2 separate regions of the Homo sapiens genome follow, and region 2 is linked to region 1. Evidence: promoter capture Hi-C in human tissues and cell types (Jung and others, 2019). All regions are on one chromosome and are shown on one strand. Each heading gives the region's core, a stretch centred on a gene start or on the middle of the fragment in contact. The rest is flanking DNA. Distances are from core to core; before and after follow the strand shown.

Evidence for each region. Contacts are between HindIII fragments. The study calls those that stand out against the background at their distance.
Region 2: a fragment that was not itself captured here is called in contact with the fragment with the promoter of GGT7 in region 1 in 2 of the 25 tissues and cell types used here (aorta and spleen).

The regions. Positions count from the first base shown.
Region 1 is chr20:34,868,684-34,874,484 of GRCh38, reverse strand. GGT7 (gamma-glutamyltransferase 7) reads left to right here and starts at 1,629. Exons shown (of 15, transcript NM_178026.3): 1 at 1,629-1,838. The coding sequence starts at 1,670. RefSeq lists a silencer at 1,458-1,747. The HindIII fragment of the contact is 17,400 bases long and covers 1-5,801 here.
Region 2 is chr20:35,013,599-35,019,422 of GRCh38, reverse strand. It overlaps TRPC4AP (transient receptor potential cation channel subfamily C member 4 associated protein), which reads left to right. Exons shown (of 19, transcript NM_015638.3): 10 at 3,284-3,415. Among named protein-coding and RNA genes, the nearest start is that of MIR499B, 26 kb to the right of the region's middle. RefSeq lists a silencer at 1,130-1,330. The HindIII fragment of the contact is 6,059 bases long and covers 1-4,668 here.

The sequences.
Region 1 (5,801 bases), core at 380-2,879:
AGGTGCAGACCTCATCAAGTGGGGAAGGGTCCCACCAGAGGGATTAGACCTCAGGGTAGTGTAATAGACCCTACAAACATCACTGAGGAGATAAGAACTCTCTGGGGTGGGGAAAGGCACAGACAATGGGTACACTTTTTGGTGATAGACTGTTACCCTCCCTGGGCACTCTTACCACACAGCTCTGAGTAGCCCTCTCCTTCCTATCCTCTCTCCCAAGTCCTACACCCAAACCCCAGAGCTGTTCCCGACACACTGCTTCCCCCTCCTGTCTATAGTTGCTACTGCAGCTGCTGTGTATATAGTAGATTTTTCAAGCACTTCAGGCCATCCCTGAGACTGGTCTGGGGTTGGGAAGAGAAAGGATGTGTGTATAGAGGCTTCACCAGCCCCCCTCTCTTCCTGTGGACTTCACAATGAAAGTTTGGAACAGAGACCTCGTAAAAGAAGGAACCTCCCTCATCCTTGGATATGGAGAAGTAGTACAAGCTGTAGTGTGGTTGGAATTTTGGAGTGGAGAGAGGATGGATGAGTTTGGAGGGAATGAATCTACCAGATTAAGGCAATGATGATGATGATGATGATGCCATTTATTGAGTAGGTGCCAAGCCCTATACTAATCGCTTTCCATTCTGTTACTTAATCCTCATGACAACCCTCTAAAATGGGTACTATTATTCTTTCCATTTCACAGATGGGGAAACTGATAGAGAGACTAATTGTCTTGCCCAAGATTACACAGTGTTTGAGCGGTGGCAGAATAGAACCCAGACATCCAGAATATGGAGACCTATTCCCCACCTTGCCCCACTCCTGCCCTACCATCACTACCACCACTCCTTCTTTCTCAAAGTGTCCTTTCCAGAACCACATCAAAAACTCTTAAAATGATGGTAAATATTCAGGTTCCAAGGACCTCATCCCAGCCTACTGAATCATGATCTCTGGAGTGGAATCTGGGGATCCGCTTTCAAAGATCCTAACACACACTAAAGTTTGAGAATGCGGTTGAAAGAGGAGTCAGAAGTGTCGGGGTGCGGGAAGGGATCTGAGGTCAGAGGAGGGATCTGTTGTCCAAAGAGGCGTCTGCAGTCAAAGAGGCCTGGAGATGAAGCATGGGCTGGGGTTTTCAAAAGGGTTTGGGGGTGAAGACAGAGTCTGAAGTCGAAAAAGAGGTCTAAGGTCGGAGGAGGAGTCTAAAATCGGAGGAGGAGGATCTCGGAATTCAAGGAGGGGTCTGGGGTCCGAGGAGTTTGGGGTCAGAGACAGGATCTGGGGTCGAGAGGGATTTGCGGTCAGTGAAAGGGTCTGGGGCCCGAAAAGGAAGCCTGGGATTTGAGGAGGACACTAGCTGTATTCAGGCTGGAAGGAGGAAGGGGTTTGGTCCCTGAGCTGCGTAAAGTGCAGAGCCACTGAAGTCTCGCTTGCCCCGCGCTCTCCCCTCGACCCTGCGCTGCCTTCCTGGCTGTCCATCTACACGCACCTGTGTGCCAGCTGCAGGCTGATAGCGCTGAGCAGACGGGGGCGAGTCAGACCGGGACACGGCCGAGGGCTGGGAGAGGCGCCCCCTCCCGGCTGTCGCGAAGATCAGGCCCCGCCCTCCGCCCTCCCACTCCCCCGCCGCAGCCACTTCCGGCAGGCGCTGCGCTGCTGGGGGGCGCGGGCGAGGATGGCGGCGGAGAACGAGGCCAGCCAGGAGAGCGCCCTGGGCGCCTACTCGCCAGTGGACTACATGAGCATCACCAGCTTCCCGCGGCTGCCCGAGGACGAGCCGGCGCCCGCGGCCCCGCTGAGGGGCCGCAAGGACGAGGACGCCTTTCTGGGAGACCCCGACACCGGTGAGGCCCGCTGACCCCGTCCCTGCCCTGCCTTGGGAAGTCCCCGGTCTTCCTTCTTCTGTGTCAAGCATCCACCTCCAGCTCCATCTCCTTAATTCATCCCCATCTTCTTGGATCTCTCCCTTCTTCTCCCTTGTCTCTGTTAATTATTTGGTGAGGAAGGGGGTGCATTTCTGCCTTGGAGGCGTAGGATGCGACAACGGAGAGGATGCTAGGGACTGCAGTAGAAGGGATTGGGCTTACCTTCTGGGAAGAACCAACTAACGATGAAGGAATGTTGAAGGGGAGATCCTAAGGAACCGCTGTGATCACCCAGAAGAGGGCTTTCTCTAGCCACAGAGGACAGGATAGGAGAAACCAAGTCAGAGACTGCAGCAAGAGGGATCCAATCTGTGCCTTAAGAGAAGTTCCCCACAGCCAGGGATTGTGAGAAGCAGAGGGTCTGGGAGAAGCGGAGAATCTCTTCATGTCTAGGGAGGGGTAAAGAGAATATGATTCCCCTCTGTTGGGTGTTGGGAGACGGAGGCATGGACTGCATGACCTCTCAAAAGTCCTTGGGGACTAGAACGCCTTCACTCTCCTGTGGATTACCCCACCCCTCCCTGAGCCATGGATCTGGCCGGGGTATTAGTAAGGTACTCTGCTCCCTAGGAAGCAGTCTCCAGAATTTTACTGTGTTCCCCTCAGCCCTCTGCTGGAATTGTGAGAAGTGGGGGTAAGAGAAGGAGGAGACAGGGATTGGAAGAGACCTGGGGGCAAAGAGCTCTCTGTGCATTCCTTCCCTGCTGCTCTTCCTCCTAGCCATGTGGCCCAGCTTCATCCTCCCCTCCATTCTTCATCCTTCATCCCCCATCCCTCTGTCCCTGCACGTCACTTCCTGGCATTAGAGCATCCTTCTACCTCACTCTCGCTTCCTCGCAGTGCCTGCACTTGAGCCTTGTCTCTTACCAGCCTGGCAGATGCTGCTTTTCCGGCTTGGCCCTTCCCTAGCTGCTCCCAGCCTGAAAGCCCCAAATTCTCTCCTCCTCTACACTTTCTGGTCATCTGGCCCTGACCAGCAGCCCTTGCCAACCTGACTGGACTGCACTCTGTATGGGGTGGGGGTGAGGAGATAATGAAGATGGAGTTTAGAGGTTTATGGGCGTCAAATGTCAGGGCTGCGGATCAAAACTTATTTTCCAAAGGGAGTGGAATCAGGAGGTAGCAGGGAGAGGAGTGGGAAGATGTGTCATGATGGATATCAGCCTGAAGCTAGGCCTTTTATTCAGTAGTCAGGAGTGAGACTTCTGGTCCTAATACAGCCCTGACTCACCAAGCGACAACAGGCACACCTACCCTGTCCTGGGCCTTAGTTTCCTCTTCCAGCTCAACAGAGAATGCCTGTCTCTCTTGACCTAGAGATTGGAACTGCCTGACATGTTTTCTTCTGGCCCTCTGTAAATGTCTTAGCATTTACCAAAATCTATGATTATTTATTTGTGCAATTATCTGATTACTCCCTGTCTGTAAGCCCCATGAGGGCAGGGATCATGATTGTTTTGTTCACTCTCCTTTCTCCAGCATCAAGACCTTATCCATAGGCCGGGCGCGGTGGCTCATGCCTGAGGTGGGTGGATCACTTGAGGTCAGGAGTTCAAGACCTGCCTGGCCAACATGGTGAAACCCCATCTCTACTAAAAATACAAAAATTAGCTGGGCATGGTGGTGGGTGCCTGTAATCCTAGCTACTCGGGAGGCTGAGGCAGGAGAATCACTCGAACTGGGGAGGCAGAGGTTACAGTGAGCCGAGATCACTCCACTGCACTCCAGCCTGGGTGACAGAGTGAGACTCAGTCTCAAAAAGAAACAAAAAACAAAAAACAAAACAAAATACACTGGCCGGTGTGGTGGCTCACACCTGTAATCCCAGCACTTTGGGATGCTGAGGCGGGTGGATCACCTGAGGTCAGGAGTTCAAAAACAGCCTGGCCAACATGACAAAACCCCATCTCTACTAAAAATACAAAAAAAAAAAATTAGCCAGGCCTGGTGGCAGGTGTCTGTAACCCCAGCTACTCAGGAGGCTGAGGCAGAGGTTGCAGTGAGCGAAGATCGCGCCATTGCACTCCAGCCTGGGCAACAGAGTGAGACTCTGTCTCAAAAAAACAAACAAACAACAACAACAAAAAAAACCCTCATCTCTATTTATTTATTGGGCACTCAATAATTGTTGAATGAATAAATGCATGAGAGAGAAGATCTCAGGATGAAAGAATGGTAGGAGAGAGGATGAAAGAATGGTAGGAGAGAGCAAGTTCCAAAACCTCAGGGAGTATTTTGGGAAGTTCAATACAGGCTCTGCCCTCACCCCTGTATGGAAATCCAGCAGAGATCCTAGTCATCTGAGCTTCTGGGAGTTTATACCTTATGCCAAATTTATGTGTCAGGTTTGTGTGTTGCCATCATTTCAGTGTAATCATTTGAATGCCATATCTCCCAATCCTACTTCCAAGCCCCAAGGCTTCCTCGGTTCACCTGGACCAGACTACAGGCTGACATGGCCTCCTGTGTTCTCAACCTGGTGGTACCATCTAGTGGCACAGCACCATCCTCTTAGCCAGGACCTTGGTTGTGCCCAGCTAGCCTCTAGCCTGCCATTCCCTAAACCCAAGTGCCAGGCACCCCACATCAGGCTCTGTGGGAAAGAGAGCTAGACAGTGATCATTCCAAGGTTGGGAAATACTTTCTTTCTTCTGAGCTCCAAGCCCTTGTGTTCCTTTCTCTCCCAGGCCTGTGTCTCCAGATGTCCTGCAAGTGCCTCATCTATAGCATGTTCTATTTTGAACTCATCATATCCCTTCCCCATGCACCTGCTCTTCCTCCACTGCCATTCTCCATTAATGACACTGCCAGTCACCCAGTCTCCCAATAATGAATGGCATGCTGGACTCCTCCTTTTCTTCTCATTTCCAAATGGTGATCAAGTGCTCTCTGCACCCCTCCTAAGTATCTTCCAAATTCCTACTCATCATCCCTGTCATCACCACTGTAGACTAAGCCACCAACCTCTCTTATCAATATTATTTATAGGCTTCTAGCTACTCCTCCTGCCTCCTCCCTCTTGCCCAGTCCCCACCCCAATCCATCCATCGCTTCTGGTCATGTCACTCCCTGGTTCAGACATCTTTGGTGATTCTGCCGGGCATAGTGGCATACACCTGTAATCCCAGCATTTTGGGAGGCTAAGGTGGGCAGATTGCTTGAGCTCAGGAATTCAGAACCAGCCGGGGCAACATGGTGAAACCCTGTCTCTAGAAAAAATACAAAAATTAGCCAGGTGTGGTGGTGCATGCCTGTCTGTAGTCCCAGCTACTCGGGAGGCTGAGGTGGGCAGATGGCTTGAGCCCTGAAGGTTGAGGCTGCAGTGAGCTGAGATTATACCACTGTACTCCAGCCTGGGCAACAGAGTGAGACACTGTTTCAAAATTTTATATATATATATATTTATTTATTTATTTATTTTAGTGATTCTCCCCTTAAGGGAATAAACAACAAGCCAGGGATGACCCTAGCCTCTAGCCAAGATCACTCTCCTAAACTCTGGACTTGTATAATCAATTTTGTTCAGGATTATTTTGTTATAAACCCAGTTTAACTGAGCTACATCCAAAAAGAGAATTTTACTGGGTAGCATAACTGAAAAGTCCAGGGATATGGGGTTTCAGGCATAGCTGGATTAAGGTACCTAAAAAGGAATGGACTTTTCTCCATCTTTTGCTCTGCCTTCTTTTGGTGGGCTTCATTGGCAGAAGGCCTCCCATTTTATTAGGGGCAAGATGCCCCCAGCAGCTACAGGCTTACATCCTACCAACTTAGCAACTTAAGTGTAATAGAAAGAGGAGCCTTTCTCTTTCCCAGTAGTTCCAGCAAAATAACAAAGTTTGGGTCTTATTGGCCTGGCTTTGTTCACATTGCCTGTTACTG
Region 2 (5,824 bases), core at 390-2,889, 140 kb before region 1:
CCTCTCACAGCAGTTCTCTGTTCCCTGAGCCTTCTTGTTGCCAGGTTGCTATGAGTTGTTGCGGTCTTGAGTTAAACTGTATGATTACAGTGCTGGTTCCTTGGGAAGGGACCACTAATGACCTTGAAATCCTGGCCCCCCAAAACCACTGTTTCACTAGCGTGTTCTCATTTGCACAGTCAGCATTTCCTGGGTTTCTGCTGTGTGCCGGGCACCGTGAGGATCTGGATTCCCAGATCCTGCCTACACTGGGTAGCAAGGGGAAGGGTTTCCTTGGCCAGGCCTCACAGAAGGCTTCCTCCTTAAAGAGGCCTCCTCGTTAATGAGCAGTTGGGCCAAGTTCTCAGACCAATCTTGGCCAAATTGAAATCTCAGGACTGGAAAGGCTCCCCATGTGCTGTCAAGTTTCATCCCTCTGGTGCTAATGAAAACCATCCATATAGCAGTCGTTTCTTTTAGTGCCCCCTGAGTAGCTTCTACAGTACCTCACTGAGCCTTTTCAACAGCTCCATCGTCCCCCATCGCCTTTTCTATCAAGGGACTTGGGTTCAAAGAATGTTGCCCAGGGTCACAGAGCTATCTTGTGAACCCAGGGCTGTCTGACTGCAGAGATAAATGCCTGAGCCTGTACCCGCTGCCTCCTCTGGTAGAGTGGCACTTCATCTCGCCCACCTGCCTACCATCCTGCTATAGAGCAGGCTACGGGGCTGGACCTGAGAGTAGGAATAATGCATTCTACAAGTAAAATTTGTTTTACAAATTTTACACATGAAGAAGCTGCTATTTTCTTTCTTTCTTTTTTTTTTTTTTTTTTTTTTCTTTTTTTGAGACAGTCTTGCTCTGCCACCCAGGCTGGAGTGGTGCAGTGACATGACCTCGGCTCACTGCAACCTCTGCCTCCCCAGCTCAAGCGATCCTCTTGCCTCAGCCCTCCAAGTAGCTGGGGTTATAGGCACACACCACCACACCCAGCTAATTTTTGTATTTTTAGTAGAGACAGGGTTTCATCATGTTGGCCAGGATGGTCTGAAACTCCTGGCCTCAAGTGATCCGCCCGCCTTGGCCTCCCAAAGTGCTGGGATTAACAGGCGTGAGCCACCATGCCCGGCCGAGAAGCTGGTATTGTTAAGAGAAAAGGGAAATGATGTAGTAGAAACCTCAAACCTAAGCACTGGCCTGAACTTAGGAGACCCAGGGTCAGGTCCAAGTCTGCCTTAGAAGGCCCCTCTCTTCCCAGCTGTGTGACTCACCCCTAATCTCTTAAGCTTGGGTTTCTAGTCTGTGCAGTGAGGCAATTGCACTGGATGAATTTTTTTGGGCCATTGTTGGAACATTTTATAGCTGTGTGACCTGGGCCTGGCTTAGGGCCCTTTGGAGTGAGACAGGAAGGCACATGGCTTGGTGAACACCATAGATGTCAGCCGTACCTCCCCACCCCCAGTTAAGCAGGGCAAGGTAGATCCAGGCTGGGTTTTAGTAAAGGCCTGAGTGGCAGAACAGGTGTCATTTTACATCAGCCTCAGTCTAACAGATTCTGGGCTGCTTATGAGTCTTAACACTGGCCAGAGGCTGTGATTTCTAGTAGGAAGAGAATAGTCACCTCTATTACTTTCAGTGGCAAAAATCGCAATTACTTTTACACAACCTAATATGTTGAAGGAAGAGGTCCATGGAAATGGAGGCTGCCAGGGATGTCTTTGTCAGCTTCTGGTCTCCCAAGATAAATGCATACCTGTAGTGGGCTAGAAAGGGGCAGACTTAAGATCTGAACACCTGAGTTAGGTGCCGTTGCAATCACTGACCTTACCCAGGCTGGTCTTGCTGAACTTCTCCCCCTTGTAAAATAGCAATAAGCGAGCACTGGTGCTGTGTGCAGAGCTTTACATCTGCTTTCTGACTCGATCCTTACAACAGCCCCGAGAAGGGCTAGTAATAGCCTTATGTTATATAAACAAATTTTAACAGGGAAATCATTCCTGCAGTTCTGTTTTAAAAGATATAAATTAGTATAAGTGAAGCCTCTCTCCCCTCTGATCCTTGACATTCTATTCTAATGGTTCCATGAAGCAGCTAATTTTACCAGTTATTAGTGTATCCTTCTAGAGACATTTTTATGCTTACAAAGGCGAATTGTATTCCTCTTTTTTTACACAATCAGTAATACAGCATGAGCACACTTGCTTTCCCAGTATTATCTCTCGGCAATTGTTCAGTTCACGACATATAAAATACCTTGATTCTTTTTTACTGGTGCCTTGTATCCCATTGAGTGGCATACCATAATTTATTTTGGGGTATTACAAATAATGCTATAGTGAGTAGTGTTGTAAATATATATCATTTAGTGTTTATATGGATCTGTCTGAGTGTAAATTCCTAAAGTGGAATTGCTGGTTTAAAGGGATTATGGATTTGCAATTTTAGAGCTACTGCCAAACACTCTTCCCTGTGCAGGTCATACCAGTGTGCCCTCCCACCAACAGCGTGTGAATGTACCCAATGCCCAAGTCACCAACACGGTCTTATAAAGCTTTGTCATCTTTCCCAGTCTGAAAAAGTGAAAAATCAGAGACATTTGTAGGACTCCTTATAGAGGAATTTCTTTGCCTGTGGCATGAATTGCCAATGTATGTTCTCTGTTTGTCATATTTGGCTTGTGACTTTGCTTGAGTTTTGCCATACAGAATTTTTAAAGGTTTAGGTGGTTGATGTCAACAAGCTTCTTTTTGAGCTTCTAGGTTTATTATAATCCTTCAGAAAGGCTTTTCCAACTCTTAGATCATTTTTTTTTCTTTGCAGAGATTTTTCTAGATCTTAGAGTTTTTTAATAATTGTATCTTACTTTCAGCTGAAATTTATCCTAGTGCAAAGCATGAGGAACATTTTGATGTTAATACGAGGAGACAAATCTTAAGGAATTTGTTTAAGGTTACAAAGTTTGCACATGGTAAAGCTAAGAGTCAAACCCAGGACTCTTGCATCCCAAAGGACTCTTGAATCATATGCAGGACTCTCTGAATCCCAAACTCATGCTTCTGTGATAGGAACTACCGGACATTATGCCTTGTAGGATTATTGTGAGCATTAATGAGCAAAGTTAGAAAGTGGGTTTGTGTGTGCTGGGCATAGGGGATACACGGATGTTTTCTTCAGACCCTGGCCCTCCTTACTGACAGTACTGATACTTGTCCTGAATATCATTATCGTGTGTACTGAGCACGAGGTTTTGCTAGATTTTTCAAGCACATTTGTCTTAATACTTTTTCCTTCCTATCCCATTCAGGTTCACAGAATGATTGCAGAGTTCAAGCTGATCCCTGGACTTAATAATTTGTTTGACAAACTGATTTGGAGGAAGCATTCAGCATCTGCCCTTGTCCTCCATGGTCACAACCAGAACTGTGACTGTAGCCCGGTAAGCAGGAGACCCCCGGGGACAGATGGGGCCTCACTGGCTTGGAGTAGTTGTTTCAAGACCTGCTGCTGACCCTTTGACCTTTTTTCCTTTGGGAGTAGAGCAGAAACTAAAATCATATCTTATAGTCCCCTAATTGGAAGCTACCTTGGAGTAGGATCTGAGTGAACTCCACTCCCCACCCCAACCTATGCAGAAATCCCTTTTAAGATCTTCCTAGGCTGGGCACAGTGACTCAGGCCTGTAATCCCAGCACTTTGGGAGGCCGAGCGGGCAGATCACTTGAGGTCAAGAGTTACAGACCAGCCTGGCCAACATGGTGAAACCCTGTCTCACTAGTGTGAGAGACACTTGCGTCTCTCACTAAAAATACAAAAATTGGCCAGGTATGGTGTTGGGTGCCTGTAATCCCAACTCTTCGGGAGGCTGAGGCACCAGAATTGCTTGAACCCAGGAGGCAGAGGTTGCAGTGAGCTGAGATCACGCCACTGGACTCCAGCCTGCGTAACAAAGTGAGACTGTGTCTCAAAAAAAAAAAAAAAAAAAGTTCCTGCCTGAGGCCCTCTAGCCAACTTCCCCTTGTAATCTCTGTGATAGGGATCTCATTTCACTCCAGGCAGGGGCTGCCCACTGCATGAGCTAGCAGCCTGCTTTTCCTTATTTGCTGTTTTATCCTATTGTAATTTTCATCCACCTATAGAACCGTGCTCCCGGGCGTGGTGGTCACACCCGTAATCCCAGCAGTTTGAAAGGCCAAGGCGGGCAGATCACTTGAGGTCAGGAGTTCGAGACCAGCCTGGCCAACATGGTGAAACCCCGTCTCTACTAAAAATACAAAAATTAGCCAGGCATGTTGGTGGGGCACCTGTAATCCCTGCTACTCAGGAGGCTGAGGTGGGAGAATCACTTGAACCCGGGAGGTAGAGGTTGCAGTGAACTAAGATCAAGCCACTGCACATCCGGCCTGGGTGACAGAGCAAAGACACTGTCTCATACAAAAAAAGGTGGCTTTGGTTTTTTGAGCCCAAGCACTCTCCTTTAGCTTGTGTCTCTCACAGTCCCCTTGAGAGAGCTCTGAACAGGACATTGGAAGGCTTGTTGGAAGAGCTTGAATGAATCACTGAATCTCTGAGCCTCTGTTTTCTTGCAAAAGAAGGATAATACTCTTTCCCCTATTGGCCCCCCGGCTAGTCGGCACCCTGCCTACCAGCATGAGAAGGAAAGTGCTCTGGGACCTAAAAGTGCCACCCAGCCATCGGCCTGGTGCCATGGGGCCCTCTTCTCTTCACTGCACTCTGGGGACTTCCCTCAGCGACCTGTCTTCTGCTTTATCATTTGAGTTTTTAATTTCAAGCAAATATATTTTGCATTTCTAGATGTTCTGTCTGGCTCAATTCGGAAACTGCTTAGCCATGATGTTAATATCTTTTTTCTGCTGCATATTCTGTTTTTAATCATTTTTAAAATACTTTCTTAAGGTCTCTTTCGATTGCTCATGGGGCACTAATGCTTGTGTTTGGGTCTTCAGACCTCAGGGTGGAGTGTTGCCTCGTGTTTTGTAATGTCTGTGGAGCGGCCACCAGAATTGCTTGAACCCAGGAGGCAGAGGTTGCAGTGAGCTGAGATCACGCCACTGCACTCCAGCCTGGGCAACAGAGTGAGACTGTGTCTCAAAAAAAAAAAAAAAAAAAAATTCTGCCTGAGGCCCTCTAGCCACTTCCCCTTGTAATCTCTGTGATGGGGATCTCATTTCACTCCAGGCAGGGAGGGGGCTGCCCACTGCATGAGCTAGCAGCCTGCTTTTCCTTATTTGCTGTTTTATCCTATTGTAATTTTCATCCACCTATAGAAACGTGCTCCCGGGCATGGTGGCTCACACCCGTAATCCCAGCACTTTGAGAGGCCAAGGCGGGCAGATCACTTGAGGTCAGTGGGGTTAGTTTCCCCCTTGGATACCTGTGTAGCCTCAGCCCTGGAGGCATTTCTACAGGGCACTTTTGCTTTTGTCTGGCAGCTGTCCCAGGGCCAGTTTTCTTATTTAATGTCTTGGCCCTACTGCCCCAGTCGTATGAGCCCAGGGTTTCTGCTGCTCTTGGGAGGGCCCCCTTCACCCACCAGCAGCACCATGGCAGAGCCAGGCTCCCTGGGCTGGTGGGTCAGGCCTTTCTAACCCTTCTTTCACCAAGTGTACATGCTCCCCAGGCTTTACTGGGACCTGACACCCTGTCTAGTCCCTGCAGGGCATTAAAACCCAAGCCTTAGTGTGACTAGGTCTTGTCTCCACCTCTCCACACTGCCCACAGCTGCTGAGTATCAGTTCCTTGGCTCACTATTCCAAACTCCTCGGTCCTTTCTTCATTTCTAACTCCTATGGACTTCCCCCGCTCCTCCCCACACGTGTTGTTTTGT